Linked DNA regions of Homo sapiens: region 2 is linked to region 1. The links are contacts of gene promoters, found by promoter capture Hi-C in human tissues and cell types (Jung and others, 2019). All regions are on one chromosome and are shown on one strand. Each heading gives the region's core, a stretch centred on a gene start or on the middle of the fragment in contact. The rest is flanking DNA. Distances are from core to core; before and after follow the strand shown. Region 1 holds the start of FAM83B (family with sequence similarity 83 member B). Region 2 overlaps LOC107986606 (a long non-coding RNA gene).

The links. The method cuts DNA at HindIII sites, captures the fragments that hold promoters and counts their contacts. A contact is called where the count stands out against the background at its distance.
Region 2: a contact is called between a fragment that was not itself captured here and the fragment with the promoter of FAM83B in region 1, in 2 of the 25 tissues and cell types used here (dorsolateral prefrontal cortex and psoas muscle).

Annotation. Positions count from the first base shown.
Region 1 is chr6:54,842,230-54,850,018 of GRCh38, forward strand. It overlaps FAM83B (family with sequence similarity 83 member B), which reads left to right and starts at 4,542. Exons shown (of 5, transcript NM_001010872.3): 1 at 4,542-4,597. The HindIII fragment of the contact is 13,561 bases long and covers 1-7,789 here.
Region 2 is chr6:54,768,996-54,776,784 of GRCh38, forward strand. All of the region lies in intron 1 of LOC107986606 (a long non-coding RNA gene), which reads right to left. It also overlaps the pseudogene KRASP1. Among named protein-coding and RNA genes, the nearest start is that of FAM83B, 74 kb to the right of the region's middle. The HindIII fragment of the contact is 3,241 bases long and covers 2,957-6,197 here.

The DNA.
Region 1 (7,789 bases), core at 3,292-5,791:
GCTCCCAGGCTGGAGTGCAATGGTGCGATCTCAGCTCACTGTAACCTTTGCTTCCCGGGCTCAAGCGATTCTCCTGCCTCAGCCTCCTCAGCAGCTGGGATTACAGGCACGTTCTACCACTTCTGGCTAATTTTTAGTAGAGATAGGGTTTCACCATGTCTGCCAGGCTGGTCTCGAACTCCAACACTTGGCCTCCCAAAGTGTTGGGATTACAGGCGTGAGCCACCACACTCGGCTGTGAAAATGTTTTTGAGAGACACATCCATTTTCTTATTGTTAGATATGACATTCTTTCTGTAGTAAAGGCTTTATCTGCCTGAAAACCATTGTCTTGAACTGAACATACATCCTAAAGCTCTTGAAGGAACTAGAATCTTAGTGCTCTTTTTGTGTACAAATAATGACTGAGACCTGGTAACTAACTGAAATAGCTTCACATACTTCTCATACTTATCATACTTCTAAGGATTTTTGAAGAACATCTTTGTTAAAAACAAATCAACAATTGAAAAGAAACATGTCATTCAGAGTATGATTTCCTTCTTTCCCAATAAAATTAGTTGCTTCTTCTCTTCTATAACTCCTGTCTGTTTCATTGTTATCTATATTTATGTGTATATATATTATTTTCTGGATTATTGTACTTCACATATATTTTATCTTATCAATTAAATTGTAAGTACTGGCCGGGCATGGTGGCTCATACCTGTAATCCAAGCACTTTGGGAGGCTGAGGCGGGTGGATCACAAGGTCAGGAGTTTGAGACCATCCGAGCCAATATGGTGAAATCCTGTCGCTACTAAAAATATAAAAATTAGCCAGGCGTGGTGGTGCATGCCTGTAGTCCCAGCTACTCAGGAGGCTGAGGCAGAAGAATCACTTGAACCCGGGAGGCGGAGGTTGCAGTGAGCTGAGACCGTGCCACTGCACTCCAACCTGGGCAACAGTGAGACTCCCCCTCAACAAAAAAAAAAAAAAAAAAAAAAGAATTATAAGTACTTTGAGGGCAGGAAAAAATACCTGATTGCTTTTGAACCCCCTTGTATATTTGAACTCAATATGGGAGGCAAATACATGCCTGTTAAGTGTAACTTCGTATTTCCACTGATTTGTTTAGACTTTAGATTAAATATTATAGAATGAGGGTAAAGATGCAAATGAAGATTGAGTTGACTTGTAGTTTTTAAAAGCCTTTTTTTTTTTTTTTTTTCTTAAAGACGGAATCTCGCTCTGTCTCCAGGCTGGAGTGCAGTGGCACGGTCTGAGCTCACTGCAATCTCCACCTCCCGGGTTCAAGTGATTCTCTTGCCTCAGCCCCCCAAGTAGCTGGGATTACAGGTGTGCACCACCACACCCAGCTAATTTTTGTATTTTTAGTACAGATGAGGTTTCACTATATTAGCCAGGATGGTCTCAATCACCTGACCTCGTGATCCTGCCACGGCCTCCCAAAGTGCTGGGATTACAGGTGTGAGCCATTAGTGTAATCTTCCCATCCATCCTGTTAGCTACTTTTAAAGTATTAACTGTAAAAGTCTAGTTTTAGTTTCTGTCTTAAATATAACCTATCCATTTAAAAAATAATACAGTTGAGAATTTATTAGGCATACTTATCATATGGAGAGACTGAGGTTTTATATCTCCCTTCCCATATCATCTGGACCTTGTTCATTACCCATTATTCTTTCTATTCTCTGCTATTTCCTTTCCAACACATTTACAGAAAGATTCCCAACAACTTGAAAACAACCTTTCACATGATCCTGCTCCTGCCTCTTCCTACTTTTCACATACATGGCCATTTTATTTCTTTCTTTCCCTCTACTGATGACTTTTGGCAGCTTGAAAACACTTAGGTTATAACTTGGGCAACATGGTGAAACCCTGTCTCTATTAAAAAAAATACAAAAATTAGCTGGGTTTGGTGGTATGCACCTGTAATCCCAGCTACTAGGGAGGCTGAGGTGGGAGAGTTGCTTGAGCTGAAAAGTTGGATGTTGCAGTGAGTTGAGACACTACACTCCAGCCTAGGGGGCAGAGCAAGATCCTGTTTCAAAAAAAGGAAAGAAAGAAAAGAAAACCTAGTTATTTCTTTCACTTTCAATTCTACATCCATTCTATCTGATGCAAATCATATTGATTTTCTATTTCATTGGCTCTCAAATCGGTTTCCTCCTTTTCATTTTCACTATTCCTTCCCTTGTCATACTATTCACATGACAGCTAGGCATAACTACTCTTCCTGACTCCCTAGAATTTATACCAAAGTCACCAACTGTTAGATTAGTCAACATATCACCAGCAAGAGACACAAGTCCATATTTTTCAGCTTGCAATCAGAGTTCTTCCCAATCTGATTCCCAGTATAATTAATAGTAATGCACTTACGGGCTTACCACAGATCAAGAGCTGGGATGTTTTCCACATACCATATCTAATTTATAATTCTCACAACAATCTTAGATTATAAATAATTTTGATCTCATTCTGTGAGAAAATTACTCCAAACTTTATGTCTAAATGTATCTTCCACCACTCACAACCATGTGATGCCCATGGCCAAATCAGGTAATTGATTTGCGTGGTTCTGGAACTTGCTTTTAGCCTTTACTCTGCTCTTTCAGCATCTAATCACATGTCAATTTCATTCTCCTGACAAGTTTGCTCATCAGTCGGGACCCAACTCAAATTCTAATAGTTCTGTGAAATTCTGTCCACATTCCTCACCCACCTTCTAGGCTCCTTAAGGGGTGAGATCAATTTTATCTATTTTTCCATCCCATTAAGGATGGAAAGGTCTTACATAGCATAATACCTTTAATAGATTCTCCCTCTCCACGTCTATTTTCTGATCTTTTGTTTGCTTTTAATAATGAACACTCGAGTAGATATATCCTTCTTTCTTTGTGATTTCACTTGACTTAGCATGAGTGCATATCTTAATAAAATTAGACTTCCTATGGGCCTCATTTAACTCCAAATATTCTTGATATTTTTAACAATAGGATAAGTGCATCTCAAAACGTTCATAAGTATTGCACCTTTAAGAGACATTCAGAATTATTCTCAAAGGCTGTAGAAACACGCCAGTATATTAAGTACCACATAGAGAATATTAATTTAGTCAATGGATTGCATGCCAAAAATGAGGAAGAGAACTGAAAAAATATTAAAAAGTGAGATGTGAAAATTAGGAACAGAAGGAAAAAATAAATACATAAAACAAGACAATTCTCTACATTCTTTTGAAGAAATGAAACTACAAACCAGACACCAAGATCTGGAAGATTAGCTTTGTACTAATCCTGGAATTTGCTTTTACTTTCCTGTCTTTGGCCTTTGCTCTGATGTTTCAGTATCTAGACTAATGCGAATTTCATTCTTCAGTTTAAATCAGCACGTCAGTCAGGGATTCATCCAAACCTTAATGGCTTAGCATTTTCCTCAACTGTTTTATTTGGAGCAAAATCGCCACGAAAGTCATTTTTAAGGGTCAATTCAATTTTATGATAATTTATATATTATGCCAGACGCTTAAAATATGCCTATTACTACCCTAAATTCCATTCTTACAGTACTAGGCTGCATTTTAGACATTTGCTGCAAATGACTTTATCTTGAAGTCTACGTGATTACACAAATTATTATAAATACTCATGACAGATTTACTGAGGTGTAGGCAAGGAAATTAAAAAATAAATTTTATTAATTACTGTATTTTATGTTTAAATTATAGTGTCTCCACTTCCGTAACATTGCTCCGCAGTATCCCACCTAGAGGGACCTGCTTTCACGCACATCTCCCTATTTTAAACAATATCCTTTCATCCCAAATCTGTAACTAGGACAGTTGAGAGTCAGTACCAAAATCTTTGATGATATTTGAAATTCTTTTACATAAAAAAGTAAAGGCACAAGCACTTTTTCTTCTACTTTTCCACTCCCCACGTCCTCTCCAAGCCTAAAGACTCTTAGGCACTGAGAAGGAGTCTGCACTGCGGGATGCCCACTGGAATTACCTACTGTGGGCTGAATCCGCCCCACACTCTCGAAGGTGCTACAACCCTTGCTCTCACCCGCGGCCCCCAGGCCTCTCCTCCAGGCATTCTTGAGCCCAGGGAAAAGCGAGGACGGGACCACGGCCCCGCTCGGCCTAGATCCGCCTTCTTCCCAGGTGAGCGTCGCTGTCCTCCGGGATCGCTCCTCGCCCCAGACCAGGAGCAGGGTGTCGGGACTTGTAATTGCCCCGTAGCCCCGAGGGCGGGCAGGAAAGAAAGGCTTTTTCATACTCCGCTGGGAGAGAGCAGGGTGTTTGAGTTCAGACAGGTTCCGAGCGCTTTCTGGCTGTTCGGGGTTTGGCGTGCCACCACTTGGGACTTGTTGTAACCCGTCTCCACTCCCGCCCCCTCCAGCGCTGCACCTTGTCTCGGGGAGGCGCGGTTCGAGCCGGAATCAGCCTCCCTCCGCGGACCTGACGCTGGGCAGGTAACTCCCCTCCCCTCCCTGCCCGCGCCCAGGCGCTTGCTGCTTCCTGGGAGGCAAACCTTCGGCGGCCGGCGCTGTGCGGCGGGCGCGGTTGCGCGCGGCTTGGGGCAAGTAAGTGGGGTTTGGGCTCCCTTGCCCCGGACCTCGGCGGACGGGACCCCAGCGGGTGCAGGGTTGAGGTGCTTGGGGTACTGGGGGGGCCCGGGGCTTCACCCGCCCCTGGCCGGCGCGGCGGACGGGAGGGATAGGGGACTCTCCCTTGGGAGCGCAGGCGGGATTGGAAATTCCACAGGGTGTAAAGCTCAGTTGCTTCAGTCTTTTCTACGTTTCTTTCATTGTCGTGGGGGTTCGAGTGAGTTGAGAAGTTTGAAAAGTTGTCTCGGGCGGAGTCGGTTTGGGTCCCCAGAGGACTGGCGCCGCCCCTCGTGGAGGCTGCATTTGTTTCCTCTTTTCCAGTGTAGGAGTGCGCCGAGGACCCCGGGAGGGGAAGCGGGAGGAGAGACCGCTGGGAAAAGTCTCGTGGGAGGAAGTCCAGGGTGGAAGCAGAGGGCATGGGGGTGGGGGGTTCCGGGAAAAGGTGGGAGAGCTTAGGTCGCTGAGGGGCGTGGGTGTTCTTTAGATCCTGAGTGGGGAGCAGAACTTGAAAAGACAGTTTTTTCACACAACCTCTTAATTGTACAGGATCCCGTTTCTGAGTGCAGACTGGTAGCGACCTGTGTTTTTCATACTTGGGTCGGCCTGAGTCTGGGTCTGTGTGCCCTAGCAGCTCTCCAGGAGAGCCTGTACCTACCAAAGTTTGAGAACCACTGCTCTAGATCCTGGTGAGTGATCTAGAAGAGGAGAGTAGGCCTAGAGCAGATTGCTCCTGGAACGGGACTTGGAGACTTTTGGCCTATTCTGTGTGATATGTGGGGAGACTTACCTGTGTAAGGTTAATGGACAGGCAGAGAATGCCTGTGTTCATTGCAGGAGTCATAGGTATGTAAAGAGACAACAGCGCTTTCTTTATAGGAGGAGGCTGGGAGGTTATGGAAACACAGGTTAGCATGTTGTCTATGCTCGGAGCGGTGAAGTTATAGGGTCTCTCTGACCTAGAAGTGGAAATGAGAGCTCAGGCGGCCAGAACACTTAAGAAGAAGGTGTGCGGGTGGCAAGCAATTGAGGCTAGAATTTAATGCTCAACAGCTTATGTCCAAATTCCCAGTTACAAACATCTTGCTAGGTTACTGGCAGGCACCTCCCTTCTTTCCCTTTCTCATCCTAACAAGTGCAAGAGCCCCGAGGAAATCCATGACTGAGGCTGAATCATTGCTGACAAGCAACAGGAAGGGAGAGAGTGATGAAAGAGACTTAGAAGAGAAAACTGGGGTTTTTTGTTTTTTATTGGAGTGGGGGTGGGGGTGGCGGTGGGAGGCTCAAAATGATTGGAGAATGAGAATAATGTGAAACAGAATGATGGAAGGTTGGGAGTGCAGGTCTTTGTTGCGTTTGTTTCTCTCTGTCTTCCTATAGTTCCCAGAAAAGTAGAAGTCCCCACACCTTCCAATTGCAAATTCCACCCCCTTGCCTTTGGGGCTCAGGCACACGTGGGGTATACACCTATTTAGGGTGCTGGCTACACCCTCTAGAGCCTGCCTAAGGGGCTGGGTGGATCCTGCCTTTAAAGCTGGCAGGCTTTAGACCGCAGATGCTGAGAATTTATTGTGGGAAGCATTACCAGTTGAACAGTTGCTGAAAGAGATTGTATAGATGGAGACAAACCACACCTCTGGTGCTGACTCAGTGATGTCTTTTACGTTTATGCCCTTGAGTTTATGACGCTAACTGGCTAAACTTTTTTGGGATGAAGTAATTAATTTTATTAATCTTTCTATTTTATTTCCTCTACCGTCCACCGTTCTTTATAGGTTAAGGTGGAGGTTCATTCACTGAGTATTTTCTTGACCATGACTCACCTTGCAGCAACTAACCTACTTGTTTCCCATTTAATTACATTATACAATACTGAGTTGCCAAAATGTAATGTTATTATACTTTTAAGTGTCCAGAATCTTGGGGTGAAACTGTTATCCCATCAAAGCGGGACTCTTCTAATACATAAATCTGGTTGGAGGAGACCTTTTGAAAAGAGGCCACTTAGCTTAATTTAATGAATTATTGGTAAAATTTCAAGTTGTCCTTGTTTATCTAGTTAGGTAAGTTTGCACGTCTGTCCCTTTATAAGTTGCAAAATGTGAATGTCCCATGGATGTTTCACAATTCACCTTTTTAAACACAATGTTTTGTTCATTTTGAAATGTGCTTTTGTTCCTTTAATTTCTGATCTGGAGATGGAATGTATTTTAGAATTTTGTTGTTGAATTTATCATCTGAACATCAGAATACATCCGCTCCCCCATGGAAACAGAGTTCTAAATGATGGTTATTCACAGCCCAGCTTTAAGGATGCCGTAGATAAAAAGTTGTACAAATAGCACTTAAACTCCATCAAGAATCAAAGCCAACAACATTTCTCTGAGAAAATGTGTTAGAGCCTTCAGTGGGAGCTTCCTTCCCACTGAGGTGTGCCAATGGGCATGGGCACTGTCTAGAAGTATCCTGGCCCCTAAGGGTAGAGCAGGCTTCCCAAGGGGATTGGGAGGCTGAGTGCTGTGGGCTCCTGAGACAAGAGCTGGGGGAAATGGTAGGCTCCAGTGGAAAGGATATACGTGGAGGTGAGGTGGAGTGGGGGGCAAGTGGGCTGTATGCTGGGGAGGAGGGTGCACTAAGGAGGCAGGGGGCTAACATGTACAGAAGGTAGGGGTGGGTGATGGAGGGGGCAAAGGATGTTTTCAGGGGCTGTGATGCTGTAAGGAAGGTGAGCCTTGGTGGAGAGATGATCCAAATATGAGAGATATTCATTGGGCATGCTGTCTATGTTGGGAAGTCCTGGAATCACATGATCATGAACGGTAGGAAACTTTTCCTCTGGGGACATCTAATTACTACCCAGTTTGTCTTTTGTTTTATTTTTACATTGTCCTTAAGAGTGGGGTGAGAAGTCCCCTAAGGGCACATGACATTTATCTTTTCAGCTGTGTCTTAAATAATTTGTAGATTACTGGTCCATGGGAAACTTAAATTAGTCATGGTCAGCCTCTCTTGCATACTGACATAGAGTCAGGTGTAGTCTCCCGGTTACTGGCAGGGGCCTATGTTGAAGAGTTTATAGAGAAGTTATGCAGTGATGATGATTATCTAATGGCTCTAACTTTGTGCTCTTTTACACTATCCCTTTGATTAAACATATTTATTGACCATTAT
Region 2 (7,789 bases), core at 3,327-5,826, 73 kb before region 1:
TTCATATGATAAAAACTTTGTTGAACTTGACTACTTGAAAAAGCAAACATCTTTACATTTTTAATGCATATTATATAGATGAAAGTACAATGTAAACAAATGAAAAGCAATATGTGAAGAAGAAAACAAACTCTAAGTAAAGAAAAATTGTATCAGAAAAGTTTAATGTGTTCCTGGGGCCATGAAGATCCTCAGGTATATACATGCGTTCATGAATTAAGTTATGCTGGTAGTTTAACATGCACGTATTTTGCTGCAATGTGCAAATAAAAGTATGTAAGAAATTTAAATGATTCCTCTTAAAGGAGCATTTCATCCTACTCAGGGAAACAAATTTATTTTGACCTCATATTTCAACAATAATACTGTCATAAACCCTTACACTTACTAAATTAATCCTCATAATAACCCTATAATACAGGTACTACTGTATCTCATTTTAAAGATGAGGAAGCTGTTGGCCGGGCATGGTGGCTCATGCCTGTAATCCCAGCACTTTGGGAGGCCACGGTGGGTGGAACATTTGAGATCAGGAGTTGAGACCAGCCTGGCCAACATGGTGAAACCCTGCCTCTACTAAAAATACAAAAATTAGCCGGACGTGGCAGGGGGCTCCTGTAATCCCAGCTACTTGGAAGGCTAAGGCAGGAGAATTGCTTGAACCTGGGAGGCGAATGTTGCCATGAGCCGAGATCGCGCCACTGCACTCCAGCCTGGGCGACAGAGTGAGACTCCATCTCAAAAAACATAATAAATAAATAAATAAAAAAGATGAGGTATTTAAGTGACTTATCATAGTCACTAGTAAATTGTGGAGTAATTTCAAGATCTAGAGAAAAAATTTTAGCAGATAAAGATTTAAAGCAAACTAAAATTATTAGAAATAGGTCCGGGACATTATTTATTGCCACATTTAAATACTCACTACGAGAATACAATAGCATTAGACATGTCAGGAATTTTATAAAGCATGATCAAAATTTGATTTGATGTAATGCACAGTAACATGTCAAACATATCAGAAATATTGTTTAACAGTGACCTAGTAAGGATGATTTTGACCCAAGTTGTTATTTGAAGAGAAAACTGGAGACTATTTCTAGCAGCATATTCTTTTTCCTCTGGAGACCTTTCACATGCCAACAACCTGACAGATGATGAAGAATGCATTATGACAAAACTGACCTAAAACTTTCAATAAGATTCACAATGTCATTCTTATTTGCAATGCTTTTTAGGTACTACATTGCAATTTAGAAAACAATGACTCCAGGGAGAAGCATGGTCTACTATTTAGTGCATTGTGTAACATTAAGATCTACTGAAATTTGCTGGTTCTTTGAAATAAAATGAATCTTTAGTGTTTGACATTATCCTGCATCATAAATTCCTAAGGAATGGAATGAGCTTTGACTGCCTTACCTTGAGAATAAGCATATTCACGTAAAGTATATAAGACAAATACTGGTTTAGATGAAGCTGGGCCAGTACTCCCGGCCTCCGCCATTTCGGACTGGGAGCTCCGTGGCGCAGGCACTGAAGGCGGCGGCAGGGCCAGAGGCTCAGCGGCTCCCAGACCTGCTGAAAATGACTGAATATAAACTTGCGGTAGTTGGAGCTGGTGGCGTAAGCAAAAGTGTCTTGACGATACAGCTAATTCAGAATCATTTTGTGGACCAATATGATCCAACAATAGAGAATTCCTACAGGAAGCAAGTAGTAATTGATGGAGAAACCTGTCTCTTGGATATTCTTGACACAACAGGTCAAGAAGAGTACAATGCAATGAGGACCAGTACATGAGGACTGGGCGGGGGGGGGGGGGGGGCTTTCTTTGTGTATTTGCCATAAATAATATTAAATCATTTGAAGATATGCACAATTATAGAAAACAAATTAAAAGATTTAAGGACTCTGAAGATGTGCCTATGGTCCTAGTAGGAAATAAATGTGATTTGCCTTCTAGAACAGTAGACACAAAAGGCTCAGGACTTAGCAAGGAGTTAGGGAATTCCCTTTATTGAAACCAGCAAAGACAGGGTGTTAATGATGCCTTCTATACATTAGTTTGAGAAATAAAAGATGAGCAAAGATGGTAAGAAGAAGAAAAGTCAATGACAAAGTGTGTAATTATGTAAATACAATTAGTACTTTTTTCTTAAGGCATACTTAAGTAAAACTGGTAATTTTTATACATTACACTAAACTATTAGCATTGTTTTAGCATTACCTAATTTTTTTCCTGCTCCATGCAAACTGTTAGCTTTTACCTTAAATGCTTATTTTAAAATGACAGTGCAAACTTTTTTCCCCTAAGTGCCAGTATTACCAGAGTTTTGGTTTTCAAACTAGCAATGCCTGTGAAAAAGAAACTGAATACCTTTGATTTCTGTCTTGGGGTTTTTGGTGCATGCAGTTGATTACTTCTTATTTTTCTTACCAGTTGTGAACATCGGTGAGAAACAAATTAATGAAGCTTGTGAATCATCCCTATTCTGTGTTTTATCTAGTCACATAAATGGATTAATTACTAATTATAATTTCAGTTGAGGCTTTATAATTGGTTTTACTGAAACATTGAGGGAACACAAATTTATGGGATTTCTGATGATTCTTCTTCTAGGCATCATGTCCTGTAGTTTGTCATCCCCGGTGAATGTAAAGTTACACTGTTCACAAAGGTTTTGCCCCACTTTCCACTGCTACTAGTCACGGTCACTCTCTCAAAAATATTATATTTTTTCTATAAAAAAATGGAAAAAAATTACAAGGCAATGGAAACTATTATAAGGCCATTTCCTTTTCACATTAGATAAATTATTATAAGAACTCCTAATAGTTTTTTCGGTTAAGGGAGACCCAGTATGAAATGGGAATTATAGCAACCATTTTCGGGCTATATTTACATGGTACTAAATTTTTATAATAATTGAAAGAATTTTAACAGGTATAAAACATTCTCACAGGAATTAAATGTAGTCTCCCTGTGTCAGATTTCTCTTTCGTAGTATAACTTTAAATCTTTTATTCAACTTCAGTCTTTGAAGATAGTTTTAATTCTGCTTGTGTTATTAAAGATTATTTGGGCCAGTCATAGCTTAGTAAGTGTTGAAGAGACCAAGTTTGCAAGGCCAGGCCCTGTGTGAACCTTTGAGCTTTCATAGAGAGTTTCACAGCATGGACTGTGTCCCCATGGTCATCCAGCGTTGTCATGCATTGGTTGGTCAAAATGGGGAGGGATTAGGACAGTTTGGAAAGCTCAACAAATACATTCTCACTCTGTGGCAGTCCTGCTGACAAATCAAGAGCATCGCTTTTGTTTTTAAGAAAACAAAATCTTTTTTAAAAATTACTTTTAAATATTAACTCAAAAGTTGAGATTTTGGGGTGGTGGTGTGCAAAGACATTAATTTTTTTAAACAATGAAGTGAAAAAGCTTTAAAATCTCTAGGTTTGGCTAGTTCTCTTAACACGGGTTAAATTAACATTTCATAAACACTTTTCAAGTCTGATGCATATTTAAGATTAATGCTTTAAAAATAAATATTAATAAAATAATCCTATTAATACACTTAAAATGTTACTTATTTTAAAATATATGAAGTGAGATGGTGTGGTGAGGTGAAAATATCACTGGACTAGAAGGAAGGTGACTTAGGTTCTAGATATGTGTCTTTTAGGACTCTGATTTTGAGGAAATCACTTACTATCCATTTCTTCATGTTAAAAGAAGTCATCTCAAACTCATTGCTTTTTTACAACTATATAATTTATATTCCGTTTACATAGGATACACTTATTTGTCAAGCTCAGCACAATCTGTAACTTTTTAACCTATGTTACCATCTTCAGTGACAGTGACAATCTTGGGCAAAATTGTGCAAGAGGTAAAGTTTATATTTGAATATCCATTCTCGTTTTAGGACTCTCCTTCTGTATTAGTGTCATCTTGCCTGCCTGCCTTCCACATGCCCCATGATTTGATGTAATTTTAATACTTCTAATTCCCCTAACCATAAGATTTACTGCTGCTGTGGATATCTCCATGAAGGTTTCCCATTAAGTCACATCAAAATCCCTTACATCTTATTTCCTCAGGTCTCAAAAGAATCTGACAGATATCATAATGGGATTTGACCTAATAGCTAATTTTCAGGTGGTGGCTGATTCTTTGAACACCTCTTTGCTGCCCAATTCATTAGTGATAGTAGGAATTTTCAAACCTGGTATGAACAGACAGAACCCTATCCAGTGGAAGGAGATTTTAATAACGATACTGCTGAAAGAATTTCTTAGGTAATCTACAATTAGGACTACCCCTGGTAACAGTAATACATTCCAATGTTTTAATAACCAGAAATCTTCTTACAATGAAAAATACTTTAATTCATAAAGCTTACTGGTTTTGTTTGTTTGTTTGTTTTTAGGCGGGGTCAGAGTCTCACTCTGTCACCCAGGCTGGAATGCAGTGGCGCCATCTTGTCTTACTGTCTCACTGTAACCTCCATCTCCCAGGTTCAAGCGATTCTCATGCCTCAGCCTCCCGAGTAGCTGGGATTACAGGCGTGTGCCACCATGCTCAGCTAATTTTTGTATTTTTAGTAGAGACAGGGTTTCACCCTATTGGCCAGGCTGGTCTCAAATTCCTGACCTCAAGTGATTCGCCCGCCTCGGCCCCATAAAGCTTACTGTTTTGCAGAACTCATTTACTCAGTAAATATATACTGAGTGCCTACCAGATGCCAGTCACTGCCTAAGGCACTGGGTATATGGTATCCCCAAACAAGAGGCATAATCCCAGTCCTTAGGTAGTGCTAGCATGGTCTGTAATATCTTAGTAAGGCCTTCGGCATATGACCCAGAGATAACACAACGTGTATTTTAGTTTTGCAAAGAAGGGGTTTGGTCTCTAAGGTTTCTTCCAGTTCTATAATTGTTTTGCTGTGATTCCAGTGCAACTCTTTGATCTAGCTACTTTATGTAAATCACTTCATTATTTTAAAGGAATAAACTTGATTATATTGTGTTTTATTTGGCATAACTATATGATTCTGTTGGGCCAATTACTGTACCCATTAAGGTATATGTCAGATACTCACAAAATTCCCAAATGTGTAGTATTCCAGTTTTCTCTGCATAAGTAATTAAAATAGACTTAAAAATTAAATATTTACTTCTAAAATAGTTTTATCTGGATGCAAATAAACAGGCGCCTGAACTAGTTCATAGACAATGAAACTTCTATGTAAAAATCAGTATGATTTCTGAAATACTATGCTAAACTACAGATCTGTGGAACATTGTTTAGGTAGGGTGTTATACAGTACCTCTTGTTTCTACACAGAGAAAGAAATGGTTATACTTCAGGAACTGCAGAGCTTATGAGGGGATATTTAGGCCTCTTGAATTTTTTATGTAGATGGACATTTTTTAAGGTAATGATAATTACCTTTTATTATGTGAACTTTGAATGGTTTAACAAAAGGTTTGTTATTGTAGCGATTTTTAAAGTGGGAGAATTCTAGAAAGAAATGTTATCTAATTATTACAGCCTTAAAGATAAAAATCCTTGTTGAAGTTTTTCCAAAAAGTGCTAAATTACATAGTCTTAGGCATTAACATGTTTGTGGAAGAATAGAGCAGACATATATTGTATGATTTGAGTGAATATTTCCACTTAGGCATTCTAGGCTCTATTTTAACTGAGTCACACTGCCTAGGAATTTAGAACCTAACTTTTATAGGTTATCAAAACTGTTGCCACCATTGCATAATTTTGTCCTAATATATATATGGAAACTTTGTGGGGCATGTTAAGTTACAGTTTGCACAAGTTCATCTCATTTGTATTCCAGTGATTTTTTTTTTAATCCAACCATTATTTCTTCAGTGTATATACATTTAGGGGATATTTCTTTAGACACAAAAACTATCTGAAGATTTCCATTTGTTAAAAAGTCATGATATCTTGATAATTATGTAGTAATTTTTTTTAGAACAAAGCAGTTACTTTAAGGCTGAATTTATATTTAATAACTTCTGTGTTAATACTGGATAGCATGAATTCTGCGTTGAGCAATTGAACAGCATACTACTGATAGCTGTCTGTCAAAAATGAAAATTTCTTTCTAAAGATACTCACATGAGTTCTTGAAGAATAGTCATAACTAGACTAAGATTTGTGTTTTAGTTTAATAGTTTGAAGTGCCTGTTTGGGATAATGATAGGTAATTTAGATGAATTTAGGGGGAAAAAAGTTATCTGCAGAAATGTTGAGGGCTCATCCCCACCCAGCAAATAGAGCTAACTGGGTTACAATGTTTTATCCGAAAGTTTCCAATTCCACTGTCCTGTGTTTTCACGTTGAAAATACTTTTGCATTTTTTCTTTGAGTGCCAATTTCTTACTAGTACTATTTCTTAATGTAACATATTTACCTGGAATGTATTTTGTGTAAACTGAAACATGCACATTTTGTACATTGTGCTTTCTTTTGTGGGACATATGCAGTGTGATCCAGTTGTTTTCCATCATTTGGTTGCGCTGACCTAGGAATGCTGGTCATATCAAACATTAAAAATTACCACTCTTTTAATTGAAATTAACTTTTAAATGTTTATAGGAGTATGTGCTGTGATCTGAAATTTGTAATATTTTTGTCATGAACTGTATAGCTCCTAATTATTACAATGTAATAAAAATAGTTACAGTAAAAAAAATTGAGAATTCTGATTCAGTAGTTCTGGGATGTGGCCAAAGTTTCTGCATTTCTCACATTCTTCCAAGTGATAATGATGATACTGCTGCAAGGGGTCCAAGCTACACATGTTGAGGAGCAAAACTATATAGATACTCATGTGACGTATCAAAGACAACACCATGTCCAACACACATGCACACATACACATACACACACACACACACACACACACCCATTTATTCCTGAGGAATTATTACCTGCATGAAGTACATAATTCATTTGTTCTTGTAACTTTACACAGATTATTTTCTTTTTTCCTCTGGTATAATAATCTTTCTCTTTCTTATCAACTAATACATTCCTGGCCACAGCACACTTTATGCAAGTTCTTTTAAATAATAAACACTGAATCATAATTCTCTGAGACAGGAATTGGGTTTTTATTGTTATCCACATTACTGAGATATTTTTGTTTAATGAATATGAGTTGCTGCCCACAGGGGTCTTCCAATCCAGTTGGAGAGACAAAAATAATTGTCTTAATATACTATGAAGATTAGGAACAGAAACATAGAAACTCTTAAAATTGTGTTCCTAAGATAATAGTTTTACAAATATGGAATTTAATGGTTTCAAGTTCATAGACCTGTGTTAAAAACCCCAATGTCTTATCAAGAGAAAGGAGAAAGAAATGGAGGACAGTATGCTCTGTTAATGAAAAAAGCCGAACTCTGTAAAATATTGAAAGAGGCTTAGTCTGAGCCAAATATGAGTGACCATGGCCTGGAATAGAGTCTAAAGCTGTCTTGAGAACATATGCCCAAGTCAATCTGGTTAAACTTGGTTTTATACATTTTAGGGAGACAGAGATTACAAGCCAAGGCATACGTTAATACATGTAAGGTATATATTGGTTTGGCCCAGAAAGGCAGGACATCTCAAAACCAGGGACTTACAGGTCATAAATGGATTCAAAAATTTTCTCATTAGCAATTGGTTGAAAGGATTAAGCTTAGGCCAGGTGCGATGGCTCATGCCTGTAATCCCAGCACTTTGGGAGGCTGAGACGGGCGGATCACCTGAGGTTAG